Regions from separate parts of the Homo sapiens genome. Here all the other regions are linked to region 1. Evidence: promoter capture Hi-C in 16 types of primary human blood cells and fetal thymus (Javierre and others, 2016). All regions are on one chromosome and are shown on one strand. Each heading gives the region's core, a stretch centred on a gene start or on the middle of the fragment in contact. The rest is flanking DNA. Distances are from core to core; before and after follow the strand shown.

Region 1 (2,700 bases), core at 156-2,655:
TACACCTAAAAGAAAAGAAATCAGTATATTGAAGAGATATCTGTACTCCCATGTTTATTACAGCACTATTCACAATAGCCAAGGTTGGAAGCGACCTAAGCGTCTATCACCGATGAGTGGATAAAGAAAATGTGGTACATATACACAATGAAGTACTATTCAGCTAAAAAAGAATTAGATCCTGTCATTCACAATGACATGGATGGAATTGAAGATCATTATGTTACGTGAAATAAGCCAGGCACAGACAGACAAACTTTGCACGTTCTCACTTGCTTGTGAGAGGTAAAAATTAAAACAATTGAACTTGTGGGCATAGAGAGTAGAAGGATGGTTACCAGAGGCTGAAGGGTAGTGGGGGTTGGGGAAGAAGTGGGGATGGTTAATGGGTACAAAAAAATAGAAAGAATGAATAAGAACTAGTATTTGATAATACAACAGTGTGACTATAGTCAATAATAATTTAATTGCACATTTAAAAATAAAAATATAATTGCACTGTTTGTAACACAAAGGATAAATATTTGAGGTGATGGATATCCCATTTACCCTGTGTGATTATTACATATTGCATGCCTCTATCAACATATCTCATATACCCCATACAAATATATGCATACCCCATACATATATATATACATACACACACACACACACACACACACACACACACACACACACACACATATATGTATATCTACTATGTACCCACAGACGTTAAAAATTAGAGGAGAAAACACACACACAACAAGGAGACTGAGCTGGAAGGATGGAGCTCTGGGATAGATTTGTCCTACATCCCTGCCTGGGAGGGAATCCACACACATGCAAGAAGACAAACTAGGAGCATGGGCTACTAAATTATACCACATTGCACTCATCGGGGTCACAGGGTTTCTTCCAAGTGACCCGCACATGCCCTTCCCATCTCTGTGTGACAGTGGCACCTGCACCAGACTGCATGTTGAGGTGTCATCTGAAATTATGAAATAAAACAGAAGTAAGAGGTCTATTAGCTCATCAAAATGCAGTTATCTAAGTTCAGCTGTGAACTGCCAAATTTGAGGAGTGATCCAATGAAACATCTTTTCTTTGCAATCCAAGAAGACTTACCGGAGAGAACTGCTCAGAGAATCTGCAACATCCGGTTCCTGGAGACAGCTAAGGAAAGAAGCTGGGGCGCATGTTTCTGCCCAAAGCCGGGTTTTGGCCGAGGTGACTACACACCCCCTTTCCTGGCTCCCATAGGCTAAGTGCCTGGCTTCTTGAGAAGCCTGCTTCTTGAGAACAAAAAAGTGATTTAAAGCCTCATGGGAGATGAGCAATCCTCAAGACACAAGCAGAAAAAGTCCCAGTGATACAGGAAGCGGGTTCAGGAACCTGCTGGTTCCTGATACATAAATCAGACAGCCTCTGCTGCATGACACGAAGCTTGCTTCTGCCTGGCATCTGTGAGCAGCTGCCAGGCTCCGGCCAGGATCCCTTCCTTCTCCTCATTGGCTGATGGATCCCAAGGGGCTCCTCTCCTTGACCTTCGTGCTGTTTCTCTCCCTGGCTTTTGGGGCAAGCTACGGAACAGGTGAGTGTTCATCTGCCTGATGGTTTGAGTCCCATGTTAGCTGCCAGGAATCAGCGTATCTTCGTGGATGGAGAGAAGGTGCAGGGCTGGGTATTGTGTTTGGTCACTCTTCCTTAGGGACTGGCTGTCAGTTTCAACTGCCTCTTTCAAAGAGGAAGGAACATTATAAGTTCCTGGGCCCTTGGGTTTCCAAGACTCAGCCCCACCAACCCCAGTTTCCAAGGAAATGAGGGGCTCTAAGCCAAAGGCTCCAGTCACTTTTCTGACCAGTCTTAGGGTGACAGGCCCTGGTAGAAGTCTTGCTTGAGTGGTTGGTTTTACATGGGCATCTTCTGGCAAAGACCCAGCCTAGAGAGACTGAGCTGGATGGACTGAGCTCTGGGAGAAGATTTGCCCTACATCCCTGCCCTGGGAGGGAATCTGTGCACATGCAGGCTGACAAACCAGGAGCATGGGTCAACAGAAAGCATTGGCTAGAGTGGGAAGAGAGAGTAGAAGTGAAAACTCCAGGCTTTTGGCTGAGAACCAGCAGTGGCCACAGTGCGGTCATACTGGTGTGTATTTTCTTGGAAGAGAAGGTCCAAGAAAGCAAGAGGGAAGAAGTTGGGATTTCTGAAGGCTAGGGCTGGTTACAGTATGTGGGAAATGCAAATTGGGAACCCTCAGAGAGTAGCTCCAGCAGGAAGGCCAGACAAGAGCTACCTTTGGATCTGGACTCTGTTCCTGTCTTTCTGTCTATCTTCTTCCCAAGGCAGGCTATTGCTTTCTGTTTAGAAGTATCAGGGCTATGAGAAAAGGTATTTGAGAAAGAAAAAGCCAAGCAAGAAGTGGACTTTGGACTGCCTGTGTGAGTGGGGTGAGAATCTCCTTCTGCTTATTTGTTTAGACTGTGGGAGGTAGCCTGGAGTAGAAGAGGTGGCATTACGGACACGGGGGGAAATCCTGAGGCCCAGGGTGTTTTAAGCTTGGGGTTTTCAAGACCGCAAATCCAATATGGACTTTTCCAGGAAAAGCACCGTGATATGCCAGGGATGTGGGGGTGCTGCACAATGGATGTGTCTTTTACCAGACAGCCAGACGAACAGGGCTTGCTCAGCCCACTTTCTTTTGGAATCTGCAGA
Region 2 (2,700 bases), core at 31-2,530, 110 kb after region 1:
TTAATAAAGTATGGTTCATAAATTTTACCTTGTAAGTGCCTAAGAAATGAGACTACAAGCTCCATTTCAGCAGGACACAATAAATATTATTTTATAATGCATCTATTTTGTGTTTTACTTTGTTTTGGTTTTTGAGAGCAACAAAAATGAAGTAAACAGATGAAACAGCAAAGGAGACAGTCCACATGATAAAAGCCCTGTGCTGTCTGAAAACCCAGGCCCTGAGTGGACACAAGAGACCAAGGGATTGAGGGTATAAGACAGACAAAGAAAAAAAGAAAAGCTGATGTAGAGAGATGATTGGGACCTTGAGAGGAGACTGAGAAGCTAGAGACAGGAAGGACAAATGCCAGAAACAGAAAAAACCCGGAGGGCAGCAGAGGTGCTTGGTTAAGGTGGAGAAGAGAGTTCTGCCTTGGTCAACCTAGAGAGAGGAAATTGAGGACTTAAATCACGTTTTGGGGGTCATCTCCCTCCAGGGAAGAAGCTTTGTCTTATTCATTTTTCACTCACAGTGCCCTATCACAGGAGCCAATGCCTAGCAGAGCTTAGTAAGTATTTGTTGAACTGAATTTGGATTGGCACCCACATATCAGAAGAGGAAAGAGAGTCCTGGAAACCACATTCAGAGTCCGAGTCCCAAATTGGAGAGTAGAAATTCTCTGTGTCACCCATAGTGCCACTTGGAGGAAAGGGATAAAAAGACTGGGCTTTTAACTGAGGAGAATGAGGTTGTGGTTTCCACAGAACTGTAGGTGCAGGGCCTCTGAATGTTTGGTAAACACTGAAGGGGAGGTGACTTACTAACAGGCGCTGTGAGATAGCAAATGGTTTTTAGGCCTGAGACAAAACCACTTCCTCTATTCCCTGCTTATCAGAGGCCACAGCTGCTCTGTTCTGAGCCAGCGTTTGCAGATAAGCCTGGTCTTCCAGCTCCCCACCTACATCTTCTTGTGGGGTTGAAATTGACTGCTACCCATGTAGAATTTCGGAGTCCCTGTGTAGAAACTCTGTAGGCAGATACAGCAACCGTTTGAGAAGATAAATTTCGCTAGTGTTTCTCCAGTGCTTTCTGAGGTTTGGCACATTTCATTTCATTTCATCTACACATTAGCCATAGGACTTTCAGCTTGAAATTACCTCCACCTCCTTACCCTCACTACCTCCAATACACAGCTTCACTCATTCACACAATGCCCATTCATTCTTCTGGGATAAGCTCAAGCGTCCCTTCCTGGGGGGAAGTTTTCCCTGTTCCTCCAGGCCATATCTGATGCCCGTGTTTTGCGCTCATAGTACAACACCTCTTGCCTTTACAGCAGTTTTCAATTTTGTCTTTAAATATTTCTCCCTGTGATTATTTTATTAATTCCTCTCTTCCGTCACTGGACTGTGAGTTCCATCAGGACACAGATCATGCGTGGTTTTGTCACCATTTGTATCCACAGTGCCTGACCCAGTGCAAGTAGTCCTCAATTTGTAATACTTTAATTATTGAAGACGCAATAGCTTATCAGCCTTTAACTGTGTTAGCTGGCATGTTACAATCCTTTGGCATATGTATCAACGACAAAGCCAGGTATACTGTTTATTTCTGAAGTATATTACCTTCATAGATTCTATAAAACCCTTGGTTGGAAATGCACTAGAAAATATTGATTTTACCTGCTATGCAGGAGACACAGAAGAGTTAACACAGCAGGGCTAAAACTGCTGTCCTTTGAAGGGCATGCTTATAAGGTTGGCCCTTGGCTGGTGTCTGAGAACTTGGACTTTGGGACGGTTCCTACCATTCCCTGATAAGAATTCCCTGATAAGGTACTTACACTGTACCTAAATTGTTGGCACAACAATTTGTTTTTTGCTGAATATCTGCTTTCTTTCTTGGATTCTGGAATTTTGGTGCATGCTAGGTAGAGGGTGCCTACGTTACTGCCTGCAGAGAAAAACCCTAAATGCCTAGGCTCCATCGAGCTTCTTTGGTAGATTACATTTCAAACATGACACAACATGTTGTTGAAGGAATTACATACATCCTGTTTGACTCCACTATGAGAGGACTCTAGAAGCTTGCACCTGGTTTCCTCTGGACTTTGCCCTTTTGCCTTTGCTGATTTTCTTTGTGTTTATTCACTGTAATAAATCGGCCATGACTATGGCTATATGCTGAGTCTTGTGAGTCCTCCTACTGAATGACTGAATCTGGGGGTGGTCTTGAAAACCCCAACACAACTCCTGAATGTCACTACAATCTATCTACCTCTCTTTCACCACTAACTACAGTAGTCCAGGTTGCCATCATCTCTTACCCAGACAATAGCACTTGACCTCTTGCAGTCGTGCCTGCTCCCAGTCCAATCCATTCTCTACACCACAACCAGAGTGATCTTTCCAAAACACAAATAATGGTTATATTGGCCATGCTAATGTCATCTGGTGGCAGAAAGGACCAATGGATTGCTGTGGTATAAGGCTTTGTATATGTAATAACTTATAAGTTGAAAATTTATAATTAAGCCCTGGCACAGTGGCTCACGCCTGTATTGGGAGGCTGAGGTGGGTGGATTACTTGAGGCCAGGAGTTCAAGACCAGCCTGGTCAACATGGTGAAACCCCGTCTCTACTAAAAGTACAAAAACAAAAAAAAAAAAAAGCCGGGTGTGGTGGCACACACCTGTAGTCCCAGCTACTTGGAAGGCT
Region 3 (2,700 bases), core at 187-2,686, 130 kb after region 1:
CCTTACAGACTTTTACATATAAGTTTATGAAAGATGCAATAAAGGACTTTATCTTCTTTTCCAAAAAAAAAAAAAATTTGTGCACTTAGCTCAGAAAAAAGTAAACAAAAAATTAACACAGTTACAAATTAGGATTTTTAGTGCAGGGGAAGAAGTTGTCACCACGCCTCTAAGAGGAAGGGGAAGTCTCAGAAGTATTTTCAGTTTATGACAGAAGGGCAAAAACATTGACTGCCTCAAGGTCTCAAGCACCAGTCTTCACCGCGGAAAGCATGTTGTGGCTGTTCCAATCGCTCCTGTTTGTCTTCTGCTTTGGCCCAGGTAAATGTCAATCCAGATCGGTGTAGTCACTGAGTGACTCCCTGGTTTTGTGCAGCTTGCTCAACCTAAATCGTCTGTATACAGTTGTCTGGCTCTCTGCCAAGGGATTGGGGCGGGAAAGGGGACGCTGGCAGTGTTACCTGATATACTACTACCTCCTCTCAACTTTGGATGCGATAAGCCTGAGATGGTTGTCGGTGAACAATTTCAATTGTGTCTGCATGTAAGAAAGTTATTTGCTGGGGCAGAGGAAATAAGCTTTTGAAGACAAGACTGTTTGTGGTTTATGACCAGCATCTTGTGTTATAAAGAGTACCAAGACCAAGAAAATGGGCCCTCATACCAATGTATCTACTATCGTACTGTGAACCTCAGGGAGGTTACTTATCCTTCCTGAACCTCACTATCCTCATCTAAATTATTAAAAACCTATTATTCAGTTGAGCCAAATTTTCTGGGCCCAACCAAACACACCAAAAATAACCCTCTCACCTTTTGCTCATTGCAAAAAAAAAGGTTTCCATCTCTCCCCTCCTTTAGTGCAAATTAGGGCTAGCTAGTCCAGCAATGCATTATATATGGCAGTGAGAAAAGAATGAACTGATCCAGCTGGCTTCTTGTTTCCTGCTGTCCATTATATGGAGAAGATGAAGATTCATATCACATTTGGGGAACTACAAGTGGTCCACGGGAGACAAAGTGTAGCATTCAGGCAGAGATAGTCCAGGAGACCAATGGAAATCTAGTCCAGAGCTAGCCCAGGGTAGCAGATAAAAGTAGGAAGCATTCACTGAGCACTTATTGTATTTCAAGTATTGTGCCAGGTGCTGTACACACGTTATGAGTCTCATGAGAATTCTATGAATTTATACTATTAATATCTCCATTTTAAAATGAAGAACTGAGGTGAACTTAATTTAAATAATTTGCCCAAATTTCATTAGCCAGCATGCGACAAGCTCTTGTAATAGTTATGAGAAAAAATAACAGTTCAACAAGTGTGGCAGCAGCATAAGAGAAAGAAGAGACTGAAGCAAGAGATCCCATCAATATGGAGTTAAGTAGAGTAATTGGTAATTGGAATGAGAAAGGAATAAATATTCATTGAGCACCTACTGAATGCTTGGCACTCTTCTAGTTTGCATGAATACATCATGAACAAAGCAAGCAAAAATTCCTGCCCTCATGGAGTTAACATTTTAGCAGGAGACAAACTGTAAAAAAAGATAAACAAGTAAAATAGTGTATTGGGTAGGAAGAAATAAATCAAGAAGGAAAGGGAGAGATGAAATATGGTAAAGACGGCAGTGAAATTTCAGACAGGATAGCCAAAGAAAGTGACAAAATTGGAAGGTGGAGAGCAGCCACAGGAGGAAGGTGAGTTCAATTTTGGACCTACTGATTTTAGGATGTCAGTGTGCTATACATGAGGAAGTTACGTGGAGGATCCTGGGAACTTAGGACTAGGGGTAGAGCTGAGGCTAGAGACTTAAAAATCAATGGCATAGAGATATGTTAAGCTGAGGAGAAAACTGGAATGAGAACAGAACTTTGGGAAATATATATAAAATGCAGAAAGAGAGAGAATTCTTTCCTTCATTCAAGAGCCACTTCCTGATCTAGGAGCAGAATCTTGAGTTTTTGCTTCATTTTTACCACCCTGCAAAATTATTTCCACCTCTAGAATAAAATATTCTGAATGTCCTTGTGTTAAAACTCCTCTTCTTCTCCCTATTTCCATGAATACTTCTTATAATGACCCTATGAAATATACAGTGCTCCAATCTCCACTTCACAGATGGGGAAAGAAGGCACAGAACACTAAAGTAACTTGCTCACTGCCCCACATTTATGGGGGAAATGGGTATAGAAAGAGAAACACATTTGAATGAGTTTACAGGAGGCAGATGCAGGTGTTCTGAGACCCAGGAGGAGAGAAGTGGCTGCTAGAATTGGAAATCAGGAAGCTTGGCTCCGGAGTCTGTGCTCATAGCCACTTCACTATGCTACTTAGCTTACACACAGTCATACATTCACACAAATGTGTACATAATTAGAAAATGTGAGGCCAGCAAAAAAAATAAGCAGGGCACCTTCATAGAGAAAAACACGGGGACCTGCTTTGGACGGAGTGATGAAGAAAGGACTTCCTGGAAAAGTAACATCTCATCTGATATTTAAAGGGTGTGAAAAGTTAAACAGGAAAAGTCAAATGAAGAAGATTTTAGGGCAGAGGGAATCATGTGTGAAAAGCCGTGATGCAGGAAAGAGCCTGGAGTGATTTAGGAAGGGAAAGAAGACCACTGTTGCAAAAATGTGGGGCAAATGAAATTAATCTTTGAAACAACCATGAAAAACAATGACTCATGCCAGCCTACA
Region 4 (2,700 bases), core at 117-2,616, 69 kb after region 1:
ACTTAAAATTCAAACCTAAGTGTTTAGGTTCAGCTTTAAAGTTTATATTACTGAGTTATATTTCTGAGATCTGGAGATCTCAGTTTCCAAAGGTCTGAGGCAAATCCTTCTCAGAGGAATCAGCACTTGGTAAACCCACCCAAAAAGCCTGGCAAAAGAAAGATCTTCTAAAAGCTTGAATGACTTACAAGCAATTTCTTCTTGGCATTCAATTGTGATGGCGTTTGAGAGAGAAAAATGTCTTTCCTAATTATAGTTGATTGTTCTATCAGGTTAGAGTGATGGATGACTCATCGTTATCATTGTTGAGCCTCATCTCTATAAACTCCCTTTATTTTCAAAACACAGAGCTATTACTCTGCTTTTATCCTCAACAAACTCTAAAATAAATGAGGAAGAGATTACTATCCCATTTTTTACAAATAGTCTCAAAAAAGAGTTGGAGAACTTGAATTAAAAACCCTATTTTTCTTACTTATGGCATAACAGTAAACTAAAAGAACGACATGAATATTGATTGTTATTTGTACAAAGAAAATTGTAACATTAACATAGATCTGGGAGTGCTGTGTCATTGTACATGTTATCTCCTTAAATACAAACAATTGCTCTAACAGAAATTTACTATGTTTGGAACTTCTAGATCTACTTCTAGTATCTCTTGCCAGTTCTGAAAATGCACTAGCAGAATTCTGGCATGAGTTAGAACCCTGGGAACCTAGTACGTTTGGATTTTCTGTAAAGGTAGAATCAATGCACTGTGATCTCTCTGGTTTCTTTGGCCATTTCAAGCTATGGCTCCTTTAATTTGAACTTCATGGAGATTGTAACCACTAGTCAGACCAAATTTTTGGAGCCTCTGCTGGTCGCTCTAGAATGGCAGACAGAAAATGCAAGTAGATGAGGAATGGTACTAGGGATGTCCCTAATCTTCCAGAGAGAGACCAGACAAGGTAGCATTTGATACCACTTAATTTGCAAAACATTCTACAATGTTTATGCCTACATTCTTATGTCATCCATATGAAAACCATTGAGATGAGCAAGATAGACGTTATTAATCCCATTATGCAAGAAAAATAATAAATTAAGATTTAGGGGTTTAAAAATTCACCTGAAATTTCACTACCTAAATTGGTAGAGCTGGAAATAGACATTGGTTTTTCTAATTCCAAGGTTAATCCCAATCCCATTGGTTCTTCTTTCTGCTCCACCTGACCTCTTCACTCATTGCTTTCAAATTTTTGATGCTCTTCAAAAGGTTAATACCTGCTAAGATAAAAGGTAGCTCTAGGATACACTTCTTTCATCTACTGAAACTGAAATAAAGTTGTCAAATCAGCTAGTAGTGAATTGTTTACAAGTTTTGTGACCTAGACGAAGTTACATTCCTCCTCTGACTCTTGTTTCAGCTTCAAAATGGGGAGGTATTAATACAGTAGAATTGTTTTGAGAATCAAAATGATGATAATGCATGTACAACACTTGCCATGGTACCTGAATATAGTAAGTGTTTAACAGATATCAGCTAATGCTACTATTTTTCACACTCGCTTTTCATTCATTATTAGGAAGAGCCATGGCTTTACCACACAGAGATCCTGGGCAGGACTCCTCTGTCAGGGAATTGTCCAAGGAACATAAACAGGAGAAAAGGTGGTGGGAGTTTGAGCTTAGGTGTTGGTTGTCTGGGTTCTGGAAAAGGAAACTAGGAGTGAGATATTCATTTCATCAAGGATCCATGAAAGGGGAATGGGAGCTTGTTTTTATAAAAGTGAAGCCAGGAGTACTTTTTACATACTGTCCACCTTTACTGAATTATCTGTTTGCCTCTTAAGGATTATTCTGCAAACCTTTTCTGAGCACAAAAATATACCATGAATTCCTCCTGCTGCTGTTCCTGGTAGAGGTAGTCCCTTACATTCAGTATTGGGCTTAGGAGTCTACACTTTACACATTTCCCTGGAATTCAGAGCAGTTGAAGAGGCTGAGAAGCAGTGGAGAGATGCAGGGAGAAATCCCCATTTCCCCTCAGAAATCACCGACATAAGGAAAGTCTGAGTGTGCAAACTTATGACTGTTCCATGTTGGAAAAGTTTTCTCTGAGTCAAAATTCACAGTCTTATGCTCTGATGCCAACTTTCTGATCATGACTTTGGAAACACCATGACTCTGACTGTCTCTCCACATACCCTGGGAGACACTCCCACTCTGAGGGTAGGAGATGAAGGAGTCCACCAGTTTTAATCCTTGCCCACCCCCTCTACATATACTGTCTCATACTCTTAATTCTTCCTTTTCTCTGCCCCATTCGTATTTCTATTTCTTCAACTCCCTGTCTTATCTCCCATCAATAATAGTAATAAGTAACCATTTATGGAGCAATCACTGCATATTCAGCATTACTCTAAGTAGTCTACAGTTATTATTTTGTTTAATCCTTACAATACACTATGAGATAGATACGGTTTATGTGCACATATACAGATGAAAGCATTGATACACAGAGAGTCAAAGGCCACTTAACCAAAAAGTGAAAGAAGTAGAATTTAAGCTTCAGAGTCCTTAGACTTCACCTCTGAGTCATGCTGCCTCCACCCACATTGATGCTGAAGTGGAGTAAATTACTCTCCCTACTATTAATGTTTGGGAATATGTCAGTAAAGAGTGATGATTTATTTATTTCTGTCAAGACAGGAT
Region 5 (2,700 bases), core at 67-2,566, 91 kb after region 1:
ATCAGTTTCTATACCGATGGACAGCATAGCGGAAAGAACGCTAATGTTGGGATTAGGCATACTTTGCCAGCTGTATGATCTTGGGCAAGTTGTTTAACCTCTCTGTTCCAAAGTTTCCTCACTTATAGAATGTAGATCGTAATTGATGGTATTAAATGAGATAATGGTAGTTGAGCTCCCTAGTATAGTGCCTGCCTTAAAGTAAATGCTCAATAACTAGTAATCATTAATTTTTTAATCCTTATCCCTTAAAAAAAATCTCATTATGAAGGACTTCCTAGATGAAGAAGGCTCTGAACTAGGCTTGAATAATGTAGTCAAAGAGCCATACCCAAATGTCAACCCTTTAGAAAATATTTAACTCATTCGAGAACTTTAGCTGAGAAAATAAAGATGGTATTCAATTTTAAGATATTGATTTTTAACCCTTTATATGTTTAATTTTGCCTACCCAATCTTCAGAAAGTCTTCTACCACGTGCAATTAGGACACAGTACAGTAATATCTTAGAGAAAGCTGTACTGTATATACAATAAAATCTGTACCTTATGGGTAGTTAGCTGGGAAAATAAAGAGAAGGAAACTAACATTTATTGAACATCATTTATGTGTTTGGCATTCTAATATCTATTTTAAAAATATATAGACTATACATATTTAAGCACTGTATGCACAAAAAGAGCAAAAGATAATACAATGAGATGTAACTCTCTCTTCTCAGAGGCAGTGGCTGTAGCCAGCTTCTTCTGTGTCTTCCATAGATAATTAATGTGCATACCAGCATAGACAGACAGATAGATGATAGATAAGTAAATAGGTAATTAGAATAATCTTTATCTTCAAAATCTCATTTAATCCTCACAACAATTGTATTTAGGGAAAAATTTTTACCCTCATGTTATAAATAAGGGAGCTGAAGCTCCATGAATCTGTATACCTTCTCCATTATTCCATAGCTAGAGAGCAGTAGAGCCTGGATTCTGAACCAGGTCTCCAGTGGCTTCCACAATCTTGGCTTGGGAGGATGAAGATCTGTCGGCCATGACTCTGACTTTCTCTTCCCAGCATCTTTGTGCAGGCAACACCTCTGTTCCTGCTGAGAAAAGTGAGATGGGATCCTCTTCTTTACCACTGTCCCCTACCTCAACACCTACCCCCAACAATTGGTAAACACCAAGCACTCCCTAGGCATTTTTGTAAATCAAATTTCTAAAGAAACACACACGCACACACACAAAATTTTGTTCACTTTCTACTAATTGATATCGTATCAGTCACTATTATAGTTAATCCAGGTCTGTACCCCAAACTTGTTTTGGGTTTATTCCAAGTCTTCACTAATTCTAATATGGAATAGATCCCTCTAAAAGATTGTTAGGACCAGAATTTCTGGCTAGCTTGGAATCAAACATTTTTACAGCTTCTTACTGTTCATGTTGAGTTCCTTCACAAACGCAAGATAATGGTTCTTATATCTTGTGTCTACACTTCTGAATTTATTGCCTTTCTAGTTGTGCACCAGTTCCTTCTGACTCCTCTATTCCCTTCCTCACATAGCTACAGTGGAAGAAACAAACCCCACCACAGCAACTTTGCTGAGAGGGCGCTGAACTTATTAACTCCAAATGTGGTCATTTTCTTATTCCTGGTAAAAGAAAAGACCTTAACGCTTCCCCATGCCAGCTCCAGTCCTAGCTATCACTTGAATTATTATTGTTCTTTAGTAACCCTTTACTAGCCTTCAACTTTTATAGTTTACTTTTTGATTGCTTAAGTAAAAACATTTTAATGAACTTTTAAAGAAATTATAGCTTTCCACCATGGATAGTTTTTAAAAAATAAAGAAAATATACATACACCAGAAAACAGAATGAAAAAAAATTTTAAAGATTATTTTGGCTGGGTGCGGTGGCTCACACCTGTCATCCCAGCACTTTGGGAGGCCGAGGCGGGTGGATCACGAGGTCAGGAGATTGAGACCATCCTAGCTAACACGGTGAAACTCCATCTCTACTAAAAATACAAAAACAAAATTAGGCGTGGTGGTGGGCACCTGTAGTCCCAGCTACTCCTCGGGAGGCTGAGGCAGGAGAATGGCTTGAACCCAGGAGGCGGAGCTTGCAGTGAGCCGAGATCATGCCACTGCACTCCAGCCTGGGTGACAGAGCAAGACTCCGTCTCAAAAAAAAAAAAAAAAAGATTATTTCATGTAGTTGTGTGCTGATAAATATTTAATTAGCTCTTAATTGGGTGTGTGTATTCATATATATATATAAAATTTATGTTTAGTACAAATTTTATTGACTTGAAGGATGTGTAGCACACAGTTTCATTAATGATAATAAATATATAATAGTCTTTATTGTAAATTCTATATAGAATTTATTTTGCTGAGAGGGCACTAGAGGATAAATTCCAATTATTCTTACAGAATGCTTTCATTGATTTTTGCTAAGCATTTATATCCCTAATCAGCTTATAGTTGTAATTGATGTATGAGTATAGTTCCAACACAAACATCGGTTGATATTTTCATTTCAGTTAAATAATAAGAAAAAAGTGATTCAACAAAGACATATATATTGGAGCTTCATTTGTTTATCAATGACACGAGCGACTTCTTTGCTGAATTGGATAATGGTTTCCAAATACCAGAAGAATACTTCCTATTTTTTGTGCTATTCACAATGTAATGGCTAC

The links. The method cuts DNA at HindIII sites, captures the fragments that hold promoters and counts their contacts. A CHiCAGO score of 5 or more calls a contact.
Region 2: a contact is called between a fragment that was not itself captured here and the fragment with the promoter of SLAMF1 in region 1, in 6 of 17 cell types (fetal thymus, non-activated CD4 T cells, naive CD8 T cells and 3 more). The highest score is 11.0, in fetal thymus.
Region 3: a fragment that was not itself captured here is called in contact with the fragment with the promoter of SLAMF1 in region 1 in 3 of 17 cell types (non-activated CD4 T cells, fetal thymus and activated CD4 T cells); the score reaches 8.9 in non-activated CD4 T cells.
Region 4: a contact is called between a fragment that was not itself captured here and the fragment with the promoter of SLAMF1 in region 1, in 3 of 17 cell types (fetal thymus, activated CD4 T cells and non-activated CD4 T cells). The highest score is 7.4, in fetal thymus.
Region 5: a fragment that was not itself captured here is called in contact with the fragment with the promoter of SLAMF1 in region 1 in 4 of 17 cell types (naive CD8 T cells, non-activated CD4 T cells, activated CD4 T cells and 1 more); the score reaches 8.2 in naive CD8 T cells.

What each region holds. Positions count from the first base shown.
Region 1 is chr1:160,645,749-160,648,448 of GRCh38, reverse strand. SLAMF1 (signaling lymphocytic activation molecule family member 1) reads left to right here and starts at 1,405. Exons shown (of 7, transcript NM_003037.5): 1 at 1,405-1,579. The coding sequence starts at 1,504. LOC107985220 (a long non-coding RNA gene) reads right to left here and starts at 1,440. Exons shown (of 2, transcript XR_001738266.2): 1 at 1,114-1,440; 2 at 1-976. RefSeq lists enhancers at 1,274-1,323, 1,364-1,573. The HindIII fragment of the contact is 11,196 bases long and covers 1-1,433 here.
Region 2 is chr1:160,538,499-160,541,198 of GRCh38, reverse strand. CD84 (CD84 molecule) reads left to right here. Exons shown (of 7, transcript NM_003874.4): 7 at 1-101. The region is part of intron 1 of CD84-AS1 (CD84 antisense RNA 1); the gene reads right to left. Among named protein-coding and RNA genes, the nearest start is that of CD84-AS1, 2.8 kb to the right of the region's middle. RefSeq lists enhancers at 706-1,000, 1,016-1,105. The HindIII fragment of the contact is 1,582 bases long and covers 490-2,071 here.
Region 3 is chr1:160,520,765-160,523,464 of GRCh38, reverse strand. SLAMF6 (SLAM family member 6) reads left to right here and starts at 210. Exons shown (of 8, transcript NM_001184714.2): 1 at 210-321. The coding sequence starts at 273. RefSeq lists an enhancer at 376-425. The HindIII fragment of the contact is 1,709 bases long and covers 582-2,290 here.
Region 4 is chr1:160,576,533-160,579,232 of GRCh38, reverse strand. All of the region lies in intron 1 of CD84 (CD84 molecule), which reads left to right. Among named protein-coding and RNA genes, the nearest start is that of CD84, 1.6 kb to the left of the region's middle. The HindIII fragment of the contact is 2,380 bases long and covers 177-2,556 here.
Region 5 is chr1:160,554,580-160,557,279 of GRCh38, reverse strand. The region is part of intron 2 of CD84 (CD84 molecule); the gene reads left to right. The region is part of intron 1 of CD84-AS1 (CD84 antisense RNA 1); the gene reads right to left. Among named protein-coding and RNA genes, the nearest start is that of CD84-AS1, 19 kb to the right of the region's middle. The HindIII fragment of the contact is 6,836 bases long and covers 1-2,700 here.